Regions from separate parts of the Homo sapiens genome. Here region 2 is linked to region 1. Evidence: promoter capture Hi-C in human tissues and cell types (Jung and others, 2019). All regions are on one chromosome and are shown on one strand. The core of a region is centred on a gene start or on the middle of the fragment in contact, and the rest is flanking DNA. Distances in the headings are between cores, read along the strand shown. Region 1 overlaps ANKRD37 (ankyrin repeat domain 37). Region 2 holds the start of PDLIM3 (PDZ and LIM domain 3).

The links. Contacts are between HindIII fragments. The study calls those that stand out against the background at their distance.
Region 2: a contact is called between the fragment with the promoter of PDLIM3 here and a fragment that was not itself captured in region 1, in 2 of the 25 tissues and cell types used here (liver and pancreas).

Annotation. Positions count from the first base shown.
Region 1 is chr4:185,399,278-185,402,466 of GRCh38, reverse strand. ANKRD37 (ankyrin repeat domain 37) reads right to left here. Exons shown (of 5, transcript NM_181726.4): 4 at 2,694-2,897; 5 at 2,226-2,450. The coding sequence ends at 2,450. UFSP2 (UFM1 specific peptidase 2) reads left to right here. Exons shown (of 12, transcript NM_018359.5): 12 at 1,989-2,930. The coding sequence ends at 2,075. Among named protein-coding and RNA genes, the nearest start is that of ANKRD37, 4.0 kb to the right of the region's middle. The HindIII fragment of the contact is 6,421 bases long and covers 1-3,189 here.
Region 2 is chr4:185,533,954-185,537,142 of GRCh38, reverse strand. PDLIM3 (PDZ and LIM domain 3) reads left to right here and starts at 1,636. Exons shown (of 8, transcript NM_014476.6): 1 at 1,636-1,801. The coding sequence starts at 1,709. The HindIII fragment of the contact is 14,334 bases long and covers 1-2,888 here.

The DNA of each region.
Region 1 (3,189 bases), core at 347-2,846:
CCAACTCTGTTATATCCTCAGTTTACTGAAGTCTTTTGTTTATGATAAGGGTATAAACACTAATAGGATAGAAATGTGTTGTTACAGTTTTAAGTGTTTTTTTTTCCTTTTCTCTTTCACAGCATTTGGAATTTGAAGTCTATAAAAGGTTTTTTGACTGGTGCATGTATCTTACTGAATATAGTAGCAATATTCTTGTTCTGTAGCAAGGTGTTCATTCCATTCAGTATTTATTAAAGTACCTAACAAGTGCCAGGCACTGTCCTAAGCACTAGTATTACACGAGGTTTTTCGGGAGCTAAAACCTTTAGGGTAGGACAGAGAAGGAGAGTGCAAAAAGGACTCTCGAGAAAAAAAAAATGGTATCTCAGGTGCTTCTACGAGGCTGGTGCTGTGGTGGCCCCTGCCTTGTAGAAACAGTGAAAGCCGCACTGCAGGTAGATCAGTGCGTCCAGAGCTAGGCGAAGAGGTGAGGCTGGAAGGACACACCAAGCTCAGTCAGAAAGGGTGGTCTTTGTGAACCAGGCATTTCGATTTTTTCTTAAAGGCAGGGAGAAGCCTTAATTATTTTCATCATCAAATTTCTCTTTTCTGGTTGACTCAAGGGGCTCTGCACTACATGGCATTATCTAGGTAAGGTTTCTGAACAATTAGAGTAAGGGATTGTCCCTGATTTCTTTCTCTGAGAATTGCAATCTCCATCTTTGCTAGTTCTATTTCTATAGAACTTTTCAACAGCAGAAACCTCCTTGCTCTATTTGTATACACAAGAAACTGTGCAGCCAAGGTCCTGCCATTAAAACTATTGATTCACTTGACTCCAGGAACCCAGGAGGCCAGAGGAGAGTTCCATCTCTGCCTGACCTCTTTGCCTTCTTGTGGTGCTTTCCTGTTTGAAGTTCCCATGCTGGTCATCTCACAGGAAAGAAGCATGTCCTATGCACTATGTCCCTATGCAATCCCATTCTGACACCCTCTCTACCAATTTCTCCTTTAAAAAATCTGGATCTGGTTACCTGGACAAGGCCTTCATGTGTAAAAGGATCAAAAAAAGGTTAAAACAGAATGAGCCTTTTTTCTCTGTCTGTTAAGAGAACAGATTTTAGGACATTAAATTAATAGAGAAAGTTTTGCTGAAAAAATGAGATGATTAATAGAATGCTGGTTACCTAGGGAGAGTGGGGGATTACCTAGGACTGGTAGAGGATTTTTTACTTTTATCTTGTTTTTTGACAACGTGTATCTTATTAGGAGGGAGTCAGACCGCTGCTTGTCACTCACTTCATGGTATTTTCAGAGTCTCAGCCTCCTTGCAAGGATTTCTCAAAGCATTTAAGAATCATATAATACAGACCAGTTATTGGCTTTTAAGTTTTCTTCTTTAATAAAATAACTCAGTGGCCCTAGGAGAAATCTGAGAAATTTTCATACTCTAAATGAGATTTTGCTTGAAAGTAATTTTCTCTGCTGGCAAAAAGGATTAATACTGACATGAAACATGGGAAGTAGAATTGAGTAACACCTGGAATTTGAAAATGAAAGGGCACAGAGTGCCAGGCAGGGGGCAAGCTGAGGTTTCTCACTACAGTACTTCAATCCTAAGATGCCACTGAATGGTCTCTTACAGTCCTTTATGGACTATTAAGAAAAACAGATTGCTAGTTCAATTGTCACATGCTATCAGTTGCAAGTGGTAAAACTATACATCTCAGAATCAGTAAAGTGTGGTATCTGGAATAACAGTTACAGGTAAATTTTTTTTAATGATTTTTATGATGAATTACATACATAGAATTAAAAGTTCAAAAACCTACCTTAAAGGGTAAGATACGTTACTTTTCTATGCTAGTAGGAATTCAAATCCTTGAATGATAAAGCCATTTAGAGTCTTATTCCAAGGTCCTGCTGACAGAGCCTGATGTCACGATTTCCATGACATAATCTTGTAACTTTGTAAAAGGCTTTCCTTTCCCGTCTTCTCTATCCAGGGCTGGTGCGGATGGAAGGGCCCAGATTTTTGGAACAAGGATGCATACTATAACTTATGTCTTCCTCAGCGACCAAATATGATTTAAAATATCTTGGAGTCAAAGACTGCAGTAGAGTGGTATTATAAATTTGTGAATAAAGAATCAGTTTAATTTTTCACATTAAATCCTGGTTCTAGTTTGACGATTTAAATTATGACCTTTTTCAAAGGTTGTAAATACTGCACGGAGAATGTATTTTTTAGACGTTCCTTTAATAACTTAAAAGACAAAGCATACACAACCAGCATATTATAGGCATGTAAATACATGTGTTCTTAAATGGATCTTCACTTGGAAGAAAGTTTTTCGTCCTTCTCAGAAGGAGATTAGACACAACATATGGTAAAGCCAAAAGCAGGAGCTTATAGATTTGCATGAAATGAAGGCGTTCTTCAGACTTCTTCATAACCCACGTGACATCTGTTTTTAAAAACACGTTAACATTAAAAACTTTTTTTTAAAAAGAGTTTTATCCCCAAACTTCCACCATGCAGTCCCATTTTTGGTCTCTAGACTCTGGTAAGTATAACCAGTACTAAAATGTTAATGAGAATGAAACAATACTACTAGAAATACGAGTGTCAGTATTAAATGGAATAATAAATGCTATGCAAACAAGAGATCACTGCGGGAGGAAAAAAGCAGCAGCTCTGAGTTACTTACCAGCACTTCCTTTTCCCACTGGTATTTTCTACACTTCCGAGACTCCGTTTCTGTCTGAGCACGGCAACACAATCATTCCTGTCAGGGTGTTCACTTGCTTTTATTGTCTGCATACATTTAATTGTTGTAAGAAACTTGGCACAGTCTGGAAATCCACATGACCAAGCGAGATCTTCAGCTGTTTGCCCGTTCTTATTACATAAACTGAAAACAGGATAAAAACGGAGTGAAATGAAACATTGAACTTAAGTCTTTTTTTTTATATCTTACAAGGGAATTTTGGGCTCATACAAATGTTGGTTGCAGAACAGAAGAGGTAAAGGATGCATAAGGAAATTGCATTTTTGGTCACTATTGTATCCTCAGCAACTAACAGAATCCAGCATAGAGCGGGCATTCCAGTTCTGAATGAATGTTAGAATTATCTGATGTTTAATACAGTGTATGAGTACCCAAAGGTAGTCAATGGGAACTATAGAATGGGTTTTCCTGAACC
Region 2 (3,189 bases), core at 387-2,886, 130 kb before region 1:
TCTCAATAAATAAATAAGTAAACTTAAAAAAAAATCAAAGTCATGCAAAAAGAACCTCTTCTTAGAACAGTACCCAAACCCAAAGCAGGATTTTCTAGGACCATTTAGGATGCAGCCAGTGCTTCTTCCTTAGAATTCTCCCTCCCAGCTAGTCTCACCTCTACCTTAACAGTCACTTCTGAGCACTTTCCTGCTGGTCTCCGTGAAGAGCAGGATGTAGGAAAACTGCCCATCTCATGTCCCTGCTTTCCACACTCTCTGCAAAGCCTTAGGAACTCATCAAGCCTGGGTGACAGATTAAGACTCTGTCTCCAAAAAAAAAAAAAAAAAACAAAAAGAAAGAACTCATCAGATATTATGTGGATATTGTATAGATATTGGCTACATCTAAATGATGCCAAAATGACCAGCAAAAAGGCAAAGAAAAAATCAGCTGTTTATATAAGCCAGCTCGTGAAGTAAGGTAAAAACAATTACTATAATTACACAACACCAAATGACTTGTCTGATTTTTTTTTTCTGAATGGACCTCTGTGTGTGTGCACGTGTATGTCTGCACCACGCAGACAGAGCCAGCAGCTGACTGAAGAAATGTGCTCTGCAGTGATACAGCCACAGCCCAAACAGGCAGTCAGCAGGACACACAATGTTCAGCTCCTCGATGGTCCAGCATAGATGGGGCACTGGGAAATGTGTGGAGCTAGAAAGTGCTTATCCCCTGGGACTTTTATGTAATCCACCACAGCGGACAAAGTAATGCCCATCCTACCTTTGTGATTTACATTTGCCCAGGCTGGTTCGCTTTGCTTACTGCTTACTGCTTACTGCTTTCTGCATCTCCTTTCTCTTTCCTCCATCAGTCTTAAAACTGCTTCCAAACAGACTGCCCTCTTAAAAGTCTGCTGCAGCTCTGTCCTCCTGGACCAATACGACCCTATCATATGGGGCATTAAGTCCAAGACCCTTATTCTTGAGTGTTTAAAGCATTTCTTATTTCTCTTCCCTCATTCTCCCCTCTCCCTTTGGGAATCACAACATCCCAACGCGTAACACCAGAAATACTTGAGTCCACACTGAGACTACCACAGGACCCCGGCCAGACTCTCCTGCACTTTGGGAGGCTGAGGTGGGAAGATTGTTTGAGCCCAGGAGTTCAAGACTAGCCTGGGCAACAAAGTGGAGACCCGGTCTCTAAGAAAAATAAATAAATAAAATAAAAATTTAAAAGGACATTAAGTAATTTGGCCAAAGCCGCAGAGGTCGTAAGTAAATATTAACGCACTCGAAACTGCTAAATAACTTATTGTATCGATGATGCTCGTTTTAATTGAAAGCATGGAGGCTGTGGTCTGGCTGCTTTCGCTTCCAACAAAGTGCACTGCTGCGCTCCAAGCAGAAGATAAACAGGGAGACAGGTGTGACTTCAAGAGAGCGACGGACGCTGTAACCCGAAGCCCCCGCGCCCGCCGCGGCCCGGGAGGCTGCCCCAGCCGGCCGGGCTGCGCACTCCCGCGGGGCTGGCGCGGCTCTCGCTTCCAAAGTTGGAGCTCTCCGGGGTGGGAGGGGGCGGGGAGGACGGCGGGGCGGTGACGTCACCCCCAGCGGGGATAAAGCGCCCCCGCCCGGGTCGGGGCCAGGACGCCGCCCGGCGCGGAGTGGCTGCCCTGCGCGGGGACACTTAGAGCCCGGTGGGCGGGAGGAAGGCGGCATGCCCCAGACGGTGATCCTCCCGGGCCCTGCGCCCTGGGGCTTCAGGCTCTCAGGGGGCATAGACTTCAACCAGCCTTTGGTCATCACCAGGGTAGGTGTCGGCATTCTTGCTTTTGCTGCGAGGTGGGGACTCCGGCGGCGTCCGGGGGGACGCAGTGGATGCCCCGGGGCCGAGGGCGGCCAGAAAGCGCGCGAGGGCGGGCGGACGGGGCGCTGCTGGCTCCCGGGCTTCGGCGCCCAGCTCCGGGGGCGGCGGCAACTCCGTCAAGTGGCTGCGGAGCGGCTCAGAGATTTGACAAAGTCCGCTCTAAAGGTGTCCCATCCTCTGGGTCCGCAGCGACTTTCCGAGGAGAGCCACTGGGCTCAGGGAAGGCGAGGCTGCCAGGCTCGAGTGCCTCCTCCCCTTTAGGTTTTAAATGTTTTATATGTGATAACAGAAATAAAACACACCCCATCGCCCTTCCGTAACAAATGATGGGTCCCGGGTGGGAGAGGCGAGGGACTGGCACCCCCCGGCATTCCCTGGAGCTGGCGCGCATCTGAGCGTTTTTCTCGTCCGGATGAAAAGTTCAGCAGCGCGCTGTTCGCGGGGCACGACCTGCGTTGGCCAAACTGGAGCCGCTCCTATCAGCCCAGACAGGGGAAGTCTTCCTAATGCTCACTCCTCAGTTTCCAGGCATTTTGAGCACGTTTTCCAAAGCTGAGAACTTGGCTTAGGAATTACCAACTTCTAACTCTAGCTACAAAGAAAACGTGGCAGACAGTTTAGTTTACCTGATGCAAAGTAAACCACTCAGCCTAAAACGGAAAATAATGCTTTAATGTCAAAGTCAAGCTTTACTTGGTGTTCTCTACTGTCTAATGAGAAAACAAGGTAAAAATAAAACCTCAGGGTTTCTCTCCTGTCAGTAAATTTGTAGAATTAATTCTAAAGCATTATTTGGTCTAGCTGGTTTTTTTCTAACACAATGTTTTTCTTCATAGAAAATTAATGTATTATTTCAGTTATCACATATAAAACATTTAATACCTAAAGGCGTAAACTTCCAGAATATTATACTTTTAGTTGCAGAGTATTATACTTTATTTTCTTGTATTCTTCTCATGCCATATTTTATAATTGTATGTGTTATAATCTGATTGATCTGCTCATACAGATTTTGAACAAGGTAATACCTTTTAAATTCTGTTTTATTTATATATGCCTATGAGATTTGGGAACCAACATCCTTTTAAAAATATGTCAAAATGTGTATCCTACAGACGCATACAATGGAACGTTTCAAGCCTTGTTTTACATTTTTCAAAAACATATAAACACATCTGACGTGTTTTTATATGAAACATGAAAACTGTTCAACATACCCCCAAAAACGTTCCTAAGTAAAGTAAGCAGAAAATGCTTCAGTGACCTGGGCCAAGCAATTCCTATTATAGATTTACCAACAAAAACAGTTTCCGTTATATCTACTAAGAAAT